Linked DNA regions of Homo sapiens: regions 2, 3, 4, 5 and 6 are each linked to region 1. Evidence: promoter capture Hi-C in 16 types of primary human blood cells and fetal thymus (Javierre and others, 2016). All regions are on one chromosome and are shown on one strand. Each heading gives the region's core, a stretch centred on a gene start or on the middle of the fragment in contact. The rest is flanking DNA. Distances are from core to core; before and after follow the strand shown. Region 1 holds the start of RSPH4A (radial spoke head component 4A). Region 2 overlaps NT5DC1 (5'-nucleotidase domain containing 1). Region 3 has its middle 12 kb from the start of TSPYL1. Region 4 overlaps NT5DC1 (5'-nucleotidase domain containing 1). Region 5 overlaps NT5DC1 (5'-nucleotidase domain containing 1). Region 6 has its middle 6.8 kb from the start of TSPYL1.

Evidence for each region. The method cuts DNA at HindIII sites, captures the fragments that hold promoters and counts their contacts. A CHiCAGO score of 5 or more calls a contact.
Region 2: a fragment that was not itself captured here is called in contact with the fragment with the promoter of RSPH4A in region 1 in 6 of 17 cell types (total B cells, M0 macrophages, monocytes and 3 more); the score reaches 9.0 in total B cells.
Region 3: a contact is called between a fragment that was not itself captured here and the fragment with the promoter of RSPH4A in region 1, in 2 of 17 cell types (naive B cells and fetal thymus). The highest score is 6.8, in naive B cells.
Region 4: a fragment that was not itself captured here is called in contact with the fragment with the promoter of RSPH4A in region 1 in 1 of 17 cell types (monocytes); the score reaches 8.4 in monocytes.
Region 5: a contact is called between a fragment that was not itself captured here and the fragment with the promoter of RSPH4A in region 1, in 2 of 17 cell types (naive B cells and M0 macrophages). The highest score is 7.1, in naive B cells.
Region 6: a contact is called between a fragment that was not itself captured here and the fragment with the promoter of RSPH4A in region 1, in 1 of 17 cell types (total B cells). The highest score is 8.1, in total B cells.

What each region holds. Positions count from the first base shown.
Region 1 is chr6:116,614,985-116,618,247 of GRCh38, reverse strand. RSPH4A (radial spoke head component 4A) reads right to left here and starts at 1,769. Exons shown (of 6, transcript NM_001010892.3): 1 at 939-1,769. The coding sequence starts at 1,624. RefSeq lists enhancers at 1,450-1,569, 1,620-1,719. The HindIII fragment of the contact is 5,584 bases long and covers 1-3,263 here.
Region 2 is chr6:116,224,979-116,228,304 of GRCh38, reverse strand. All of the region lies in intron 8 of NT5DC1 (5'-nucleotidase domain containing 1), which reads right to left. Among named protein-coding and RNA genes, the nearest start is that of TSPYL4, 27 kb to the left of the region's middle. The HindIII fragment of the contact is 5,275 bases long and covers 1-3,326 here.
Region 3 is chr6:116,289,915-116,293,088 of GRCh38, reverse strand. It overlaps a transcript of DSE not described here. Among named protein-coding and RNA genes, the nearest start is that of TSPYL1, 12 kb to the right of the region's middle. The HindIII fragment of the contact is 6,300 bases long and covers 1-3,174 here.
Region 4 is chr6:116,118,653-116,121,152 of GRCh38, reverse strand. The region is part of intron 6 of NT5DC1 (5'-nucleotidase domain containing 1); the gene reads right to left. COL10A1 (collagen type X alpha 1 chain) reads left to right here. Exons shown (of 3, transcript NM_000493.4): 3 at 1-2,244. The coding sequence ends at 1,080. Among named protein-coding and RNA genes, the nearest start is that of COL10A1, 6.2 kb to the left of the region's middle. The HindIII fragment of the contact is 1,059 bases long and covers 721-1,779 here.
Region 5 is chr6:116,204,382-116,207,565 of GRCh38, reverse strand. The region is part of intron 6 of NT5DC1 (5'-nucleotidase domain containing 1); the gene reads right to left. It also overlaps a transcript of COL10A1 not described here. Among named protein-coding and RNA genes, the nearest start is that of TSPYL4, 48 kb to the left of the region's middle. The HindIII fragment of the contact is 1,304 bases long and covers 1,006-2,309 here.
Region 6 is chr6:116,271,546-116,274,688 of GRCh38, reverse strand. It overlaps a transcript of DSE not described here. Among named protein-coding and RNA genes, the nearest start is that of TSPYL1, 6.8 kb to the left of the region's middle. RefSeq lists an enhancer at 3,062-3,143. The HindIII fragment of the contact is 2,550 bases long and covers 176-2,725 here.

The DNA.
Region 1 (3,263 bases), core at 520-3,019:
AGCTGAGTTCTGAAGAATGAGGAGCCAGCCAGCCAAAGACTTAGAAAAGAAGCCTTCTGGGCAGAGGGAACAGCCATGGGGCTAGAGCTTAGTGATGGAGGGAGAGGTAAGAGTCGGTAAGTGTTGTTAGCCACTGGAATCTTGAGCAAATTAGGTTCTCCATGACTTGGTCTCCTCATTTACAAAAACAAATGAGTTGTATTAGATGTTTTCCAAAAGCCCTTCTAGCCCTAAAATTCTACTGACCCTATCATTATGTAACTCTGGAAGCAAAAATCTATAGAAATCTATACATGTCATAAGTTCTAAAATTAAAGCTATAATGGGATGGGCAGAACATATGTAGACTATTGATCATCACATTTTAAGAGACTTGGATAAAATGGCATGTGTTCCAGGTAGCTTGTATAGTGACCAATTCTCCGAGTTTGCGAGGACTAAGGGGTTTCTTAGGATAAAGAACTTTCAGCGCTCAGCCAAACTGAGATGGTGGTCACCCTAGCACTGCCTGGGTTGGGAACTCAAAAGCCATGCAAGCAATAGCATCTACAGATGAGAGACGTGATTGCTTTCACTGGTAGACAATTATTTTTCACAAGCATCCTGGAGAGATGCTTGGACTTTATGGTCTTTATGGTCTTTTTCAAGCCCGAGATTCCATAATTCCTAAGTTTTATTTTGTTGTGTGCCTAGGGTCTTTAAAGAAGCTGGAGGAAAAGGACAAAAAAAAAAAAAGGTTAAGAAAAAGAAGGTACAAGAATCTCCATTAATGACCTGTTTTGAGTCATGTGATCCAGAGTTATGTCATTAACTCTCTTTTACTAACACAATCTTTCAAATATATTTTGATTCACCCACAGAAACACACTCTCACACAGAGATACTCACACACCCTCTTGCTTTGCCAAACATTTATCTTTTTTCCCTCTGAGACTTACAGATTAAAGCCCGAATTGCTGCTAGTCTTCAGCAGGTAAGCCTTAGCATTCTGAATGGTGATCTCAAGCATGCTGGGGGCCACTTCAGAGCCCCCAGGCGCCGGCTGCTGTAAATCATAGTCACTGTTTGAGTCTTCCTCCTGAAAAACGTCAAATCTCAGCTCTTTCTGTTTAGCGTTGTTATAGCTCACGTCCCTTCGTCCACACAGGTGGGGTTTGGGTTGCTGAGACTGTTGAAAGGTGTTTCCTTCTGACTGGCTTGTGTGATGAGGAGTTGATTCTCTTTTATCAGATGATTGTTCCAAAGGATCAGGATAAGGTGTCCCAGCTTCAGGAATCACACTCGTGGTCCTGTCCGACTGAGGTGGTGCCGCGAGGTCTTGTCTGGCCGGAGCCAGGGGAGAAGGAGAGGAAGAGGGCTCCCGCGGAGAGACAGGAGCAGGTGATGATGTTTCTGGTCCCGCGGGGCCACCCAGAGGCGTCTTGGCTCTAGACTGCGGGCTCCAAGGACGGCTGCTTCGGGACTGGCGTCCAGTTTCTGGCCCCTGCTTCGCCTCCAAGGGCTCAGACGACTCAGGCTCAGAATATTGGGGAGAAGCTGCTGTCTTTCCTTCCCATGGCCGCCTTGTTTCCCCTAGTTCTTCTTGGTTTTCTTTTTCTTGCTTCGGGGAGGTTGAGTCCTCCATGGAAGCAGTTCAAGAAAAAAAATGTTCTGGATGAAAGGGGCGTGAAAATATGGAAGAAGGCAACTCAGTTAAGTTACTTTGCCGCGGTCTCTTAAGCGATTTCTGGGTCCTGGTTGCTCTGTGAGTTGCTGCGTCCTATCTCCATAGCAACCCCAGGCCGGGTTCCTCTCAGAAAAACTCACCGCGCCTGTTGCCAGGATTCGAGGGCGGAGACTAAGAGAGAACGAGAGAGAGAGATGAAAATCCTAGCTTTGTGATTCGGTACAACCCCTGCCCCTCGTTCTATCGCAGCCAATCCGACCTAGACTCGACCAGTCTTGCTTGGAAACCGAGAACTCCAGATCCTGCGCCTTGAGCACAAAGTAGGAAGAATGGCGACCCCATGCGAGAGACCTTTAGGGGTCTGAGACTGATCCAAGTTGTGCTGTGAGGAGCGAGTCGTGCGTTAGTGGAGGGACAGTGTATTCATGAAGCGTGTGTGTGGAGGGTGTGTGTGTGTGAGAGAGAGAGAGAAGGAAGGAAGGAAAGAACGGAGGAAGGAAGGGAGGGAGGGAGAGAGGAGAGTGAGGGGTAGAGAGGGAGGAAGAGACTGACCTTGGTAATCTCGGAGGTGCAGGTAACAATGGGACCCCAGTGTGCTGACCAGGAGACCCCAAGCCTCACATTTAGCGTGCATCAGCTACAACCAACCAACTCTAAAGACTCGGAGAATAGACAAAGCAGTCCTGAGTTTTGTTCTTCCTGCTTATAAGGAATCTCCTGGTGATTAGGCAGAATATTATACTTGAGAAGGCAATGCAGAAAACCTATAAATAGGCAATTCATGGGTTACCCGTTTTCTAATAATTGAAATTCAAATTAACACTAAACTATATTGGCATAATATAATTTTTATTTGATAATGTAAATGTAAATGCATAATTTTGCAATGATTTAAGTTCAAGATTATGACTATTCATTTATAGTATACAGTCTCCAATATGAAGAAGGTATAGAAGATTGGACCATATCTGGACTTAACTATAAACCATATATTAATTAAAGTCTTTAATGTTAATTGTTTTGTATTTCTTTCTCTTTCTAAATATACCAACAAATACTTGGCATTTGACAGTTTACATTGATATAGCTTCTATTTAGCAAGATGTTGCTCTAAATTCTAACTTCATGGAAGAACATAATACTCCTCCATTCAGTGTGGTGAGGGAATCACAGACTAAAATAATTTGATAAAAACTGTGTGCACACACACAAAATGTTGAATATAACTTCTGCTGGTACAGAGACTCTTTAAAGTCAAATGTCTGGGATTTAGAATGCTTGGATTTCTAAAAACAGAACATTAAGATAAACTAGAACAATAAATTCTGGGGTTTTTTGGTAATTGGTGCAAGAGTTGAGGAAGTTAGCATTTTTTCCCCCTTAATTTCTCCCTTGCAGCTGGCAAGCTGTAATGGAGGCTTTTTTTTTCTTTGAAAGACAAGCCAGAGGGCCAGGTGTGGTAGCTCACACCTGTAATCCAAGCAGTTTGTCTTTTTTTCACCAGGTAATCCCAGCACTTTTGTGTTTTTTCTTTGAAAGACAAGCCAGAGGGCCAGGCAAGATGGCTCATGCCTGTAATCCCAGCACTTTGAGAGGC
Region 2 (3,326 bases), core at 775-3,274, 390 kb after region 1:
ACTCCTGACCTCAGGTGATTCGTCCGCCTCAGCCTCCCAAAGTGGTGGGATTACAGGCGTGAGCCACCGCTCCCGGCCAAAATGAGGTAAATTTTTCTAAATATCTGTACAAAAAGCATGAAATCCTATATACGCTGAGATTGCTAAGCACTTTACAGTCTTCATTACAGAGACTGGTAGGACTTTTGGTCCTGCTTCATCAATCCAGATTTTTCATCTCTAAAACCACAGAAGAGAATGAAACACAGTAGACTGCTAGTTAAAATGAAATTTTTATCAGACTTTCTGGCTATATCCCGAAATGCACAGACAACAAAAGCAAAAATAGATAAATGAGATTACATAATACTAAAAAGCTACGCAACCACAAAGAAAACAGTCAACAAAGTGAAAACAATCTGTAGAATGGTAGAAAATATTTGCAAACCATACATCTGATAAGGGGTTAATATCCAAACTATAAAAGGAACTCATCTCAATAGTAAGGAAACAAATAACCCAATTAAAAAAATGAGCAAAGGACCTGAATAGACATTTCTCAAAAAGATATACAAATGTCTAGCAGTTATACGAAAAAGTGCTCAACATCACTAAGCATTGGGGAAATACAAATTAAAACCATAATGAGATATCACCTCATACCTATTAGAATGGCTGTTATCAAAAAGACAAAAGATAAGTGTTAAAGAGCATGTGGAGAAAAGGGAATCCTTGTACATTCTTGGTGGGATTGTAAATTAGTTTAGCCATTACGGAAAAAAGTGTGGAGGTTCTTCAAAATAATTAAAAACAGAACTACCATATGATCCAGCAACTCCAATACTGAGTATATATGCAAAATGTATGAAATTGGTATGTTGAGCTATCTGCACTCCCATGTTCATTACAGCATTATTCACAAAAGATATGAAATCAACCGAAATGTCCATTAGCAGATTAAAGGATAAAGAAAATATGGTATATATACATAATGGAATACTATTTGACCTTAACAAGAAAGAAATCCTGTCATTTGTGACAACATGGATGAACCTGGAGGACACAATGTTAAGCAAAATAAGCCAGGCACAGAAAGACAAATACCATATGATCTCACTTACATTTGGAATGTAAAAAAGCCAAACTCATAGAATCAGAAAGTAAAATGGTGGTTATGTGAGGCTAGGGGTAGGGGTATTAGGAGATGTTGGTCAAAGGACACAAAATTTCAGGTAGGAGGAATAAATCCATAAATCCAAGAAATATATTGTACAAAATGCAGAGTTAAAAATAATATATTGTATATTTGAAATTTACTAAGAGAATAGATTTTAAGTGTTCTTACCACACACACAAAAAATGATAATGTGAGGTAATACCTATTTAAATAGTATCATTTAGCCATTCTACAATCTATATATATATCAAAATACCATGTTGTACAACATAAATATATAATTTTTACTTGTCAATTAAAAAATAAATGAAATACAAATTAGAGAAAGTAGAAATTAAAAAACTAAGTGTTTATACAACCCAAAATGTAAAACAATTTTTTAAAATGGTATATTTATTATCAGGATGTGCTTATTTTTAAAGTTTAGATTCCTAATATTTCCATACCATAAATTCAATCAAAAAGACTTTCAAGTCTTTTGATGAGTATAATATTTAAAAATATATAGTTTGGATAAACATCATTATTATGTCAGCCCTCAAATCCAATTGTACTATACAACTAACAGAAAATACTGCACAGAAGTCTTAAGATAGGTACTTCTAAAGTAATCGTTTTTTAAAAACTCCACCCTTTTTCTCAGGATACTCTCAATTAAATAGAGAAAAACTACATAAAATGCTGTAAATTGTCAGCATATTTAATGCATTTATAATTTCCAACATGTTAAAAAAAACTTGGTATATTTTTAACGTGCAGTTTTCCATTAATTGTATCTTTGTGTGAAATTTTAATAAAAATCTTATGGAATGGCATAAATACTACTATGGGTATAAAAGGGGTATAGATTTTCTTGGAACAAAATATGCAAACCCCACAAAAATAAAAATAAAAACAAATATTTATTGGGTACTTACTTATATATTTAAATGTAAGTTTGTAAAGTAGGGAAAAACATTTAAATTTTTTTCTGGTTTAATTATAAGAATATTATTAGAATTCTTGATAACAGATTATTTCTTAATATCAAGGATTTTATTATATAAGACTTTAAACCAATATATAAAAACAACATCAACCTATTTCTTTGTACTAGACTAGGGTTTCTTAGCCTTGGCACTACTGAGATTTGGGGCTAGATAATTCTTCGTCGTTGGGGGGTGCTGTCCTGTGTGCTGTAGGCTGCTTAGCAGCACACCCAGCCTCCACCCCCCTCCAAAGTTGCGACAACCAAAAACGTCTCCAGACATTGCCAAATTTGCACTGAAGGGCAAAACTGCCACCGTTGAAAACCACTGCAGCAGATCATTCTCATCAGCACATATACATATTCCAGTATCTTCGATCTTAAAAAAATAAAATATGCCCTTAATCCTACACTGTCTTCTAGCTAAAACCTCAATTCTTTGACTGCCTTTAGAGCTAAAATTCTAGAAAGAGCTGCACATATACCCTGGTTCCATACCTCCAATGAACTACTCAAGATACTGCAATTTAGTTTCTATCCCACCACTCTATGGCAACTGTTCACTGAGGCACTAGTGATCTCCATCTTGTCCACCCCAGGGAAGATTTCTCCTTCCTCATTTCAGTGGACTTTTTCTGTAGCATTTGGACTAGCTGGCTACCCTTTCCTCTTTCCTCTGGCTTCTGAACACGTATTCTACTGTTTTCCCTACTATAATCTATCTGCTGCCACACTGCACTCTTTCTTCTCTATCTTTAATATTAGAGAATGTCAGGGCTTGGTCCAGGCCTTTTGCCTATCTACATTCTCTCAATATTTGGTTTCATATAATCCCCTGGCTTCAAATACCTATCTATGAGCTGATTACTCCCAATACATATCTTGAGCCTAGACTTGTTCCCTTGGACTCCAGGCATATTTATACAATTTCCTAATTGATAGTGACAGTTACATAACTCATAGGCATCTCAAAATTAACATGTTGAAAAATGAGTTCTTAACAGATATAACCCCTACTCCACACAACTTTATCCTCTGTATTTTTCCCCAAGTCTGTAAATGGTACCACCATCTACTCACTTGCTCATTTGAGGAAAAAGAAAAATCAACCACCTGGAAGTTATTTTTTATTACTCCTTTCTTTTTGTCTGCTGTTTCTTTAAGTATCACCGAGCCCTCTGTGTTTTCCAACTCCATAATGTA
Region 3 (3,174 bases), core at 407-2,906, 330 kb after region 1:
GTTTTCTTTAATGTTTGTCTGAAAAATATTTTAAATCCAATGTGTAAAAGTCATTCCTAATGTCACCACCTCTCTTTAAAATTCTAAGAAGCAATAAGCTAAAGTCCCCTTCCCATCCTCATCCCCCAGAGATCACCACTGTTGGCAACTGGGTACACATCCTTTCTTAATATTTCTTGCATTTATATAGATACAAGGGTGTCAGCTAATATTTATTAAAATATAATTAGCATATACTTATTGGTCTGCAATGTTCTTTTACATCTTTCTAATTAACATGGATGCTTTTCCAGGTCACTACTTTGGATCCAATTTATTCCTTTTAAAGGTTACGTAATATTCAGTTGTATAAACATGCCATAATTTATCCAACCTTTCTTCTACTTACTGACATTCAGTTTGTTTTCTTTTTTTTTGTTTGTTTGCTTCCTCAACACTTCAGTGTAATAATCAGATCCTTACTCTGCTCCCAACAATGCTGCTCCCTACAAACATTCTTCCCTCAACCCTGCATCTCCTTGAACTTGTCATCCAGTCTTTCCCCTTTTCTATACTGACAATTATGAAAGAACTGGCCTCACACACTATCTATATGTTCATTTATCATTCATTTTTTCAACTCTGCAATTTTTCTGTCTTGCTACTTTTCTGAAATTGCTCTCACTAAAGACACCCATGCTGTATAGCTGCCGCCCAATTCGGAAACTTTTCTTCCCAGTCTTCATCTCACTCAATATGGCTGCATCCCTTGAACCTTAGCTTCCTGAAGTCCATTCTTCCCTTGCATACTGAAACAACACTCTTCTGGTTCTTTCCCTACCTCTAATGGCTATTTCTCAGTTTCCTCTACTTGTGCCACCTCATCTGTTTCTTTCACGTCAGTGTTCCTCAGAGCTCTATTTTTGGCCTTCCTTTCTTCTTCCTCTACTTGTCTTCCTGGTGTTCTCGTCCACTCTGATGATGTCAACTATCACCTAAACACTCAAGATTTCCAAGTCTAACTGTAAACCCCACTCTTCTCCTGCTCTACAAATACCCAAATCTATCTGATCTACAAATACCCAACATCTCCCTAGAGTCACATGAAACTCTCCTTGTCTGTAGCTGAACTGTTGATCTCTCCTCCCACTACAACCCGATCTTCTTCCTGTATTCCATAACTCAATCACATTTCCACCCATCCTTGTTACCCAAACTAAACAAATCAGTCTTCCTTAACTTCTTGTCTACTTTCATATCTAGTTTTTCAATTGGTTCTACAATTTATCTGACATATTCTGTTGTCAGTTACTACATTCCTAAAGATATCCTCATCTACCCTTGCCTGCATTTTTATAATACTTCACAACTGATATCCCAGCCTTTAATCATATAACCTTCACATCATTTTCCATATGGCAATTAATATTATTTTCTGACACTGTCCATGTCAATCCCCTGTTTAAAAGCCTCCAATATCCTCTAATACCCATAGGATTAACAAATATGTATATATATAATTATATTTAATATATCATAAACATATAATAATGTATAATAAAAAGCCTTTAACTATCAGATTCCATTTTACCTAACCATCACCCCCAACTAATCTCCCTATCTTTCAGTCATTTCCTCAAGCTGGCTGGACTTCTACTTGTATTTGAGTCTTTGTTCAGGGTATTTTAGTCAACCTGGAATTTTCACCCCCTCTCTCTTATTATAATTTTATTTTTCTTATTAGGACTCATCTCAAAATTATCACCTCTGAATTCTTACCAAGCTCTCTTATCAATATAGGAATACAAATTTCCTATTCTGTGCACCCAAAGCCCTTTGTCCACATCTCTCTTGCTGGAACAACACTCTCCTAGTATTATAATTATTGGTATCATCTGGTATTATAATTGTTTGTTTCATCTGGTATTATAATTATGTGTTTCTGTGTCTATCTTCTCCACAACACTGTGGTCCCTAATGAACAAAGTCCATGACTTTCAGATTTTTGTATGCCATCCCACAACTCTTGTGTCCTGCATAAACCTCAACAAATGTTTTGAATTTAGAGAGTTTGGAAAGAACAGACGAAGTGGTCTGGTCTCAAGTCTACGCCTCCAATCTTCTGTGCTACAGATGACATTGCAGAGCACAGTGGTGGCCAGAAAATTGAGCAAACTTAGAATGGGTGCTTTGTTTACTTTTTTGCATTCATAATGCAGTTCTAGGATCAGCATTCAATCAACAATTTCACTGAGGTTGGCTGGAAAAAGTTTCTCCCTTTGGGAGAGAAGTTAGCAGTTAAGAGGATTCCTTTCTGCTTTTGGAATTAGGGAAATATTTCCAATTATGAGAGACCACAAATGGGTAGATGATATACTAAGTGGGAAGGATGCAGATTGTCTCTTCTCAGGATGAGTTTTAAGGAATTATTTCCAAATAAGACTTCATGTATTTCCTGATAACAAACCTTGATTTTCAATAATTGCTCCTGAGTGTAGAACAGTACAAATTAATAAAATATTTATTTGCTAGAGCTCTTATATCCTTGAATTAATTAATCAGCAAGTGAAATCTCTGAACCCCAAGTCTGAGAATCTAGAAATACTGTTAATTTAGAAATATCAGCAGTAGCAGGAGATATTACTTTTAAAATGTGCCCCACATTTAGTAAATGCTTCCCCTGAGGGCACTTAACTCCTAAAAACCATATGTCCTGTTTAGATTAATATATTATAATTAAAGTTTCCATGGCTGTTTAAGCTAGCCATCAGTGTGGAATCATTCAATCAATGCAGCCAACACTGCCTAAGAATCTTCTAGGTGCTAGGCACTAATGATACAGATCCAAGAAAACGAAGTTATTAGAAAATAGGTGGCAGTAACCCTTGAGTTCCCCGGTTACTGTCAAAGATTTCAAGAAATCAGAAAAGCAACATGGCATAGTACAAAGAGCTTTGAAGCCAATAAACTGGGTTTATATCCATACTCCATTACTTATTAGTCATGTAACTTTAGGCAAGTCACCTGATATCTCTGGGATTTCTTAATCTTCACAACAGGGTGAATACTACCTATGTAATGGAGGGGTGAGGCAATTAAATAATATATGAAAAGCATTTAACACAGTATCTATTATGTAGTAAATATTCAATAAATATAAATATTTCTATTTATGATGATGAATGAAATATGGTA
Region 4 (2,500 bases), core at 1-2,500, 500 kb after region 1:
AAAGGGGAACAAGGGCCAGCAGGTCTTCCTGGGAAGCCAGGTCTGACTGGACCCCCTGGGAATATGGGACCCCAAGGACCAAAAGGCATCCCGGGTAGCCATGGTCTCCCAGGCCCTAAAGGTGAGACAGGGCCAGCTGGGCCTGCAGGATACCCTGGGGCTAAGGGTGAAAGGGGTTCCCCTGGGTCAGATGGAAAACCAGGGTACCCAGGAAAACCAGGTCTCGATGGTCCTAAGGGTAACCCAGGGTTACCAGGTCCAAAAGGTGATCCTGGAGTTGGAGGACCTCCTGGTCTCCCAGGCCCTGTGGGCCCAGCAGGAGCAAAGGGAATGCCCGGACACAATGGAGAGGCTGGCCCAAGAGGTGCCCCTGGAATACCAGGTACTAGAGGCCCTATTGGGCCACCAGGCATTCCAGGATTCCCTGGGTCTAAAGGGGATCCAGGAAGTCCCGGTCCTCCTGGCCCAGCTGGCATAGCAACTAAGGGCCTCAATGGACCCACCGGGCCACCAGGGCCTCCAGGTCCAAGAGGCCACTCTGGAGAGCCTGGTCTTCCAGGGCCCCCTGGGCCTCCAGGCCCACCAGGTCAAGCAGTCATGCCTGAGGGTTTTATAAAGGCAGGCCAAAGGCCCAGTCTTTCTGGGACCCCTCTTGTTAGTGCCAACCAGGGGGTAACAGGAATGCCTGTGTCTGCTTTTACTGTTATTCTCTCCAAAGCTTACCCAGCAATAGGAACTCCCATACCATTTGATAAAATTTTGTATAACAGGCAACAGCATTATGACCCAAGGACTGGAATCTTTACTTGTCAGATACCAGGAATATACTATTTTTCATACCACGTGCATGTGAAAGGGACTCATGTTTGGGTAGGCCTGTATAAGAATGGCACCCCTGTAATGTACACCTATGATGAATACACCAAAGGCTACCTGGATCAGGCTTCAGGGAGTGCCATCATCGATCTCACAGAAAATGACCAGGTGTGGCTCCAGCTTCCCAATGCCGAGTCAAATGGCCTATACTCCTCTGAGTATGTCCACTCCTCTTTCTCAGGATTCCTAGTGGCTCCAATGTGAGTACACACAGAGCTAATCTAAATCTTGTGCTAGAAAAAGCATTCTCTAACTCTACCCCACCCTACAAAATGCATATGGAGGTAGGCTGAAAAGAATGTAATTTTTATTTTCTGAAATACAGATTTGAGCTATCAGACCAACAAACCTTCCCCCTGAAAAGTGAGCAGCAACGTAAAAACGTATGTGAAGCCTCTCTTGAATTTCTAGTTAGCAATCTTAAGGCTCTTTAAGGTTTTCTCCAATATTAAAAAATATCACCAAAGAAGTCCTGCTATGTTAAAAACAAACAACAAAAAACAAACAACAAAAAAAAAATTAAAAAAAAAAACAGAAATAGAGCTCTAAGTTATGTGAAATTTGATTTGAGAAACTCGGCATTTCCTTTTTAAAAAAGCCTGTTTCTAACTATGAATATGAGAACTTCTAGGAAACATCCAGGAGGTATCATATAACTTTGTAGAACTTAAATACTTGAATATTCAAATTTAAAAGACACTGTATCCCCTAAAATATTTCTGATGGTGCACTACTCTGAGGCCTGTATGGCCCCTTTCATCAATATCTATTCAAATATACAGGTGCATATATACTTGTTAAAGCTCTTATATAAAAAAGCCCCAAAATATTGAAGTTCATCTGAAATGCAAGGTGCTTTCATCAATGAACCTTTTCAAACTTTTCTATGATTGCAGAGAAGCTTTTTATATACCCAGCATAACTTGGAAACAGGTATCTGACCTATTCTTATTTAGTTAACACAAGTGTGATTAATTTGATTTCTTTAATTCCTTATTGAATCTTATGTGATATGATTTTCTGGATTTACAGAACATTAGCACATGTACCTTGTGCCTCCCATTCAAGTGAAGTTATAATTTACACTGAGGGTTTCAAAATTCGACTAGAAGTGGAGATATATTATTTATTTATGCACTGTACTGTATTTTTATATTGCTGTTTAAAACTTTTAAGCTGTGCCTCACTTATTAAAGCACAAAATGTTTTACCTACTCCTTATTTACGACGCAATAAAATAACATCAATAGATTTTTAGGCTGAATTAATTTGAAAGCAGCAATTTGCTGTTCTCAACCATTCTTTCAAGGCTTTTCATTGTTCAAAGTTAATAAAAAAGTAGGACAATAAAGTGATGGGTGGCTTTTACAGTTGTCATGGATATGTCCCTATATTGGTGATGCATCTTTATTCCCACAGACCCAACCACTCATTGTTGACTGTGAAGAGGTACCCACAAAACCACATGCAATCTGAGTCAGGGTCAAGGGCTGATGACTAGGGATAGAAAAATGACAAAATCACCCCAAAGTTGTAATTTTCTCCTGGGAGGGAAAGAAGCAGGTGACAGAGAAATATGCAGTTTGAACAAATATTCTGCAGTTACTATTTATTGTCTTGACAT
Region 5 (3,184 bases), core at 408-2,907, 410 kb after region 1:
ATAATAAAATACAATCATATATACTTTTCAAACATAAAGATGAAAGACTTTTTAAACCAAAAATTAAGTAACTCTTTACCCGGTAAGCATGAAAAAAAATCTGAAAAATAAGGTTATAAACTTAGTCTTTACCTATATAATATGGACATATGTATCTATCATCTATCTAATTAAAGATTGTAAAGGATTTTTTTTGCTTTCTCTCTTTAGAATACATTAAGTCCACCATAAAAAAGAAAACATTTACTTCTATAGCTATAGACTCTATTGATCTTAAAAGGAAATGCAGGTACAGAAATATTTTTTCCCATGATTTCTTAAGACATATGATCCATTTATTGAGTGCATACCTTCAATCTTTCAGAATAAAGTGGAAGAAATCTGCTGTAGGCAGGGAATAGGTATAGTTATTAATGCAGAGATATCAGCTCCCAGAGGATCTGAATAAAACAATATTGTAATAATGAAACTATTTTCTAATAAAAAATTACATTCTTTTGACCTAGGAAAAAGTTTGTTAAGAAAGCATATGACATAAGTGATCAGACTATTTATTTTTAAAAGGAAAGATGTCAATATAAATCCAGAGAACTTTAAATTCTAGAATTACTCAATAAACAAGAAGAAAACATTTAAAATCCAATTTAAATGAGACAAATATTTTGCACACAATTATTTGGCAAATGTTAGCAATAAACACTAAATGCCCTATGTGTATTCAATGAAGAAAAATGTGAGTAAAGAGGAAACTGCACTAGACTTCGACCAATTAACAGTTTATCTAAAAACTATGGCAAAGAAAATGTTTTGCCCTCCAGATATAAAATCCATTTAAAACATCAAAAGGAACTTTATCTAAATGTCTCATGCCAGCAAATTAAATCATTATGGAGCAGGGTAGGAGGGATGGCAGAAAGAAATTCATAATTTGCAGGTGACTTCATTAAGAAACAGCTGTTGCTGTTGATGTAAGGAGAGTTGCTATTCCATTTCTACTGAAAAGCTTCAGAGCACAAAGTTCTGTACCAGAGTAGACACACAGATAAAAGTATATTACAGGATATGGTCTCCAGTGTTCCTGGGTGGTATGGACCCAAATCAGACAGTCTTGAGTCAAGTCTTAGTTGTGCAATTTCCTTGGGTAAGTGCTTTAGTCATTGAGAGACTGTTGGCTTATCTATAAAATGATCACAGTTATAACACTCACCCCATTAGGTAATTGTGTGAATTATATGCAATGATATATGTGAAACATTTAGCACAATGCTTTACACATAGTAAAAATTTTGTGTTAGAGCTATTTTTACTTTAACAAGTTCCTCTGGCCTAAGTACAGGCAGTTGATTAACCACGAAATGCTATGGGCCACACTGCATCATGGAATTGCCCTGCATGGGCCCAAAATGCAAGATTTCCCTTATCAAAATGCTACTTACCTTCAAAACATATTTTGAAACATATGCTATGAAAAAACCCTAAAAGTCCTACTGAGCAGGAGGCAGGGTGGTTCTACTTTTTGTTACTTCCAGGAAAAAACACTGGGCTAGATGGTCCAATGGTCTATTAGATCATTCTCAAAGGACTGAGCAGAGAAACTTGGGGTAGCTATTAGAACCTTGGGGACCACAAAACCTAATCTCATTGTGCAGATATGAAAATGAGGCCTAGAGAGGCTGACTTGCCTATCATCATGACATAATGAGGAAAACAGCAGGATGGAATGAAAATCTTGGTCTCTTTGATTTTTTCATTACACATTCCTTACTGTCATATCTACTAATCTTATTGTTTTATCCCCTTTATTAAGACATATTACAGCCTTGTTGTAAAGATGTAAATACAATTAGTGAAAAATTTAAAATGTACCCTTTTAATACAAAATCAGAATAAAGACGGAAACTACACAAACAGCTGGTTTATTCTTAAAGAAATGTATAAAATATCTGAACAGCCTTTTTTCCCCCCCAATTTATTCCACATATTTAAGGAATTTCCTTTGGGAAGACTAGGTCTAGCAAGATCAGATGCTCTGTATATCTGTGTAGAGACTGTGGGGCTCCAGAGGGAGAAGCTGCTGACTCAGTTAAGTTCCAACCTACCAGATAACAGGGAAATTATCTTTCTAAGGTTAAATGTTATTTTAAAATTATCTCGTAATTACTCAAGTAAGATATGTGAACACTTCCAAATTTCCAAATATATGTTCTAAATTTTGAAACATAAAAAAAAAGTCTGAAGTCTTCTCTAAATAGTACTCTCAGTTTCTGGTCCCTAGTATCATTGTTGTCATTTTAGTGTCACACCAAGCTTGTCCAGCCCAGCTTATTTTGTTGTTGTTCTATTTTGTTTTGTTTTAGGCTTTTAGCAGCCTGAAGACATGGTTTTTAGTTTCTGTCTGTAATGATAAGCAGAAAAGAGGGATGAGGAAGGGGTTTTACCGGCCTAACCAGAAACAGAAACTAAGAACCCATGAATGTATTATTTGCTTGGACACTTCTGCACTGTATACTTTTCAGATAAATTTCTACGGACTTGCATACACACATATGTAGTTCACATTTTGGTGTGTATCTTTCCAATAAGGTGTTATGGACTTACACACACATATACATGTATTTTCTAGTACACATTTTGTGCAATTTGCTTTCCTCACCCAAAAAAATGACTTCAAAATCTAGCCACGTACTTAAATCTAGCCATGTAATTATAACAAATAATTACTGAGCACCTACTACACACTATTCATTGTTCTACTTGTTGAAAACATGGACAAAGTTTTTTCTCTCATAGACCTTACATTCTAGAAACGCTTCATTCTTTTTAACCACAACATTGCAATCCAGCATATGAATACAACAGTACTTTGGTGATTTTTTTCATTATAAATTCTGGAGTAAACAACATTGTATCTGAGTCCATGTATACATATGAGTACTTCTTTAGGGCTTATAAATGTTAAACGGCTGGCTCATTGCATATCTGCGTTTCTAATCTTAATATTTACACTGAGTTTGCTTTCAGAATTGTTGGGGACAATAGTTTTTAACATTGTTAGCAGCATATATGTGTGTACACTTACCCCACACTCTCATCAGGTCATACTGTCAGATCTTAATTTTTGCTGATATACTAAGTGAAAGTGGACATCTCATTGTTTTACCTTGCATTTCCCTGATTACTAATT
Region 6 (3,143 bases), core at 201-2,700, 340 kb after region 1:
GTAGATTTTGATGCCAAATTGACACAGTTATATTGGTTTAATTTTTAGTGACTTTTAAGACCAATATATGCATATTTTCTAAAGTAAAATGCTCTTTTTTTTTTTTTTGAGACAGAGTTTTGCTCTTGTTGCTCAGGCTGGAGTGCAATGGCACCATCTCGGCTCATGGCAAGCTTCCGCTCACCGCAACCTCTGCCTCCTGGGTTCAAGCGATTCTCCTGCCTCAGCCTCCCCAGTAGCTGGGATTATAGGCATGCGCCACCACGCCCGGCTAATTTTGTGTTTTTGGTAGAGAGATGGGGTTTCTCCATGTTGGTCACGCTGGTCTCAAACTCCCGACCTCAGGCGATGTGCCTGCCTCGGCCTCCCAAAATGCTGGGATTACAGGCGTGAGCCACTGTGCCCGGCCAAATGCTCTATTTTTAGTTTACAAATGTACATGATGTTCAGAAAATATTTTCAGTCGTATTTTAACAGTTGGCTAGCAACAGAAAAGGAAAATATCTGAGTCTAGCTCTGCATTAAGTCAGTTCAATGAACGCGTACTACTTGAAAAAGCAGCCGGGCAGGGTGGCTCACGCCTGAAATCCCAGCACTTTGGGAGGCCGAGGCGGCTGGATCACCTGAGGTCAGGAGTTCGAGACCAGCCTGGCCAACATGGTGAAACCCCGTCTCTACTAAAATTACAAAAATTAGCTGGGTGTGGTGGCAGGCGCCTGTAATTCCAGCTACTCGGGAGGCTGAGGCAGGAGAATCGCTTGAACCCAAGAGGTGGAGGCTGCAGTGAGCCAAGATTGAGCCATGGCACTCCAGCCTGGGGACAAGAGAGACTTCGTCTCAAAAAAAAAAAAAAACAAAAAAACATACTTTTTGAAAATTAGTGGTCTGTAATTGTAATCTTGCAGTAGTTGTTTATTGAATACTAGCATAAGTAAGGATTGAATGGGATAGTAAAGGTTGTCTTTGCCCTTGAGGAACTCAGGCTCATTGAGGGGGGTACCGTTCCTTGAATGTTTCCTTTTTTTCTGCAGCAAATACACACATTCAAAACATCTACTGCACACAAGCAAACTCAGAGAGGACCAGCCTGGCTGAGAGGAGTTGACCATCCCCCTCAGGACTGACTTCCTTTCCTTCAACATTATTATATAATTAAAGTCCTAGACTATATAGAAGTGACAGGTATGCTCTCTATGCATTTATTATTATGGGAGGTGTTTTACTTGGAAGCAGTACTTTCTCCATGTTAAGTGCTTTGAGCTCTGAAGGGCCATCTTAATCCATTCTCTCTGACCTCAGAGGTTGTCAAGACCTATAGAAGAGTTTCTATCAAGCCACATTAGGAAAAATGTGGATGTCTACTTTTTGGCTTCACTTTTTTTAGGATTTGTATTTAAGGTAATTTCTTTGAGAACAGGTAAAAGGAAATGGTTCAATTAAAAAGGAAAGGGTCATTTAAGTAAGTTACTAATTTTTGTGAACACCTATATGTCTTAGATATGACCTGATGGGCAGAGAAGGCATACTAGCTTTAAATTAGGATTAAATCCCGGTTTTACAATTACCATGTATTGCATTTCCCAAAATAAACTACTCTGAATCTTGGTTTCCTTATCCATAATGTAGGGATGATAAAACTTGCAGTATAAGCTAATGTTTTAGGATGCATTTGGAGACTGCATTATAAGGTTACAGAGAAGATAACAACAGAAACATTTGAGAGCTTACTTTGCGCCTGACACTGTGCTAAGAGATTTCAAGTATTAATATAGTTATAATATAGAGGTTAGACAGCAAGCATCATGTCTAGCATATAATATGCAATCAATTAAAATTTCCATTTGTCTTCCTCTCAATTTTAATTTCTCATTTAATTTACATTCAGACAAATAGTCATCTAGCTTCATGGTTCTCAAACCTGGCTGATCATTATATATAGCTTTGAGCTTTCAAAAAATACTGATGCCAAGACTCTACCCTGAACCAATTAAATTACAGCCTAAAGTGCAGCTGAGTTTGAGAATCATGGCTTACCTTTTCTTGAACTCCTTAAGTTAGGGAATACATACTCCCTTCCCAGTTTTGTCAAATTGATTCAAATTTGCCACCTTATAAACATCCAGCTATTGCAAAGAGCCTGGTATATCGTAGAGTTTCAGTATATCTATTTCATAGTTTCCCCCCTGTGGTCTTGCAGAATGGAATTAACCTGAATTCAACAAAAGAGGTCTTTAAAATTCATAACAGCAGGTGTCGTCTGTCTTTGAAATTCCCTTGCCAAAAAAGGAAATGATTTCTTAGTGATATGCTTTACTTCTGTTGATCACTATTTGCTCTTTTAAAGTGTCCAAAGATGTTTTAATAGATACTTGGTATTTGTTGTTTTCTTTAATAAAGTATAATTTACATGTAGCACAGGAATGGTCATAGCAGTTTTATTTATAACAGCCCCAAACTAGAAACAGCCCAAATGTTCACCAACAAGTGAGTGAATGAACAAATTATGGTATATTCATACAATGGAACACCACTCAACAATAAAGAGGAACAACCTATTGATCATCAACATGGATGAATCTCAGAGACATGTTAAGTGAAAGATGTCAAAGGAATATATATTATATGATTCCATGTATATGAAATTCACTAGCATAGAAAACTTTTTTATGGTGATAGAAATCCCAGGAATGGTAGCCTCAAGGTTGAGGGGAGTAACGGTAAAGCTTGAGGACATTTGCAGGGGTAATAGTGCTCCATATCTTGAGTTGGGTGATAACACAGGTGTATCCACTTTTCAAAACTTGTCCAAGTATATATTTAAGATTTATGCATTTTAGTGTAAGTAAATTATACCTCAATAAATAGATTTTAAAATATTATTGATAATTTAAAAAATAGAACTTCATTTGCCCATCTCCAGTCTTTTGGCTTCTCTTCCTTGGTGGTAAAAATTGCTGACTCTACTTACAAGATCTTATTTGTGAGTTCTTACTGTTGCATGATTTTATTTATAATTCTAATAATGAAATTCCTTTTTAAAAACTTATTTCTCTTTCAATTCCAGGCCAAAATTGACCTTTCTCAAGATTCTCTTAGTTTACAAACTGAGGTCTGTCATCCTCTGGTCATTGAAGTGAAGTCTG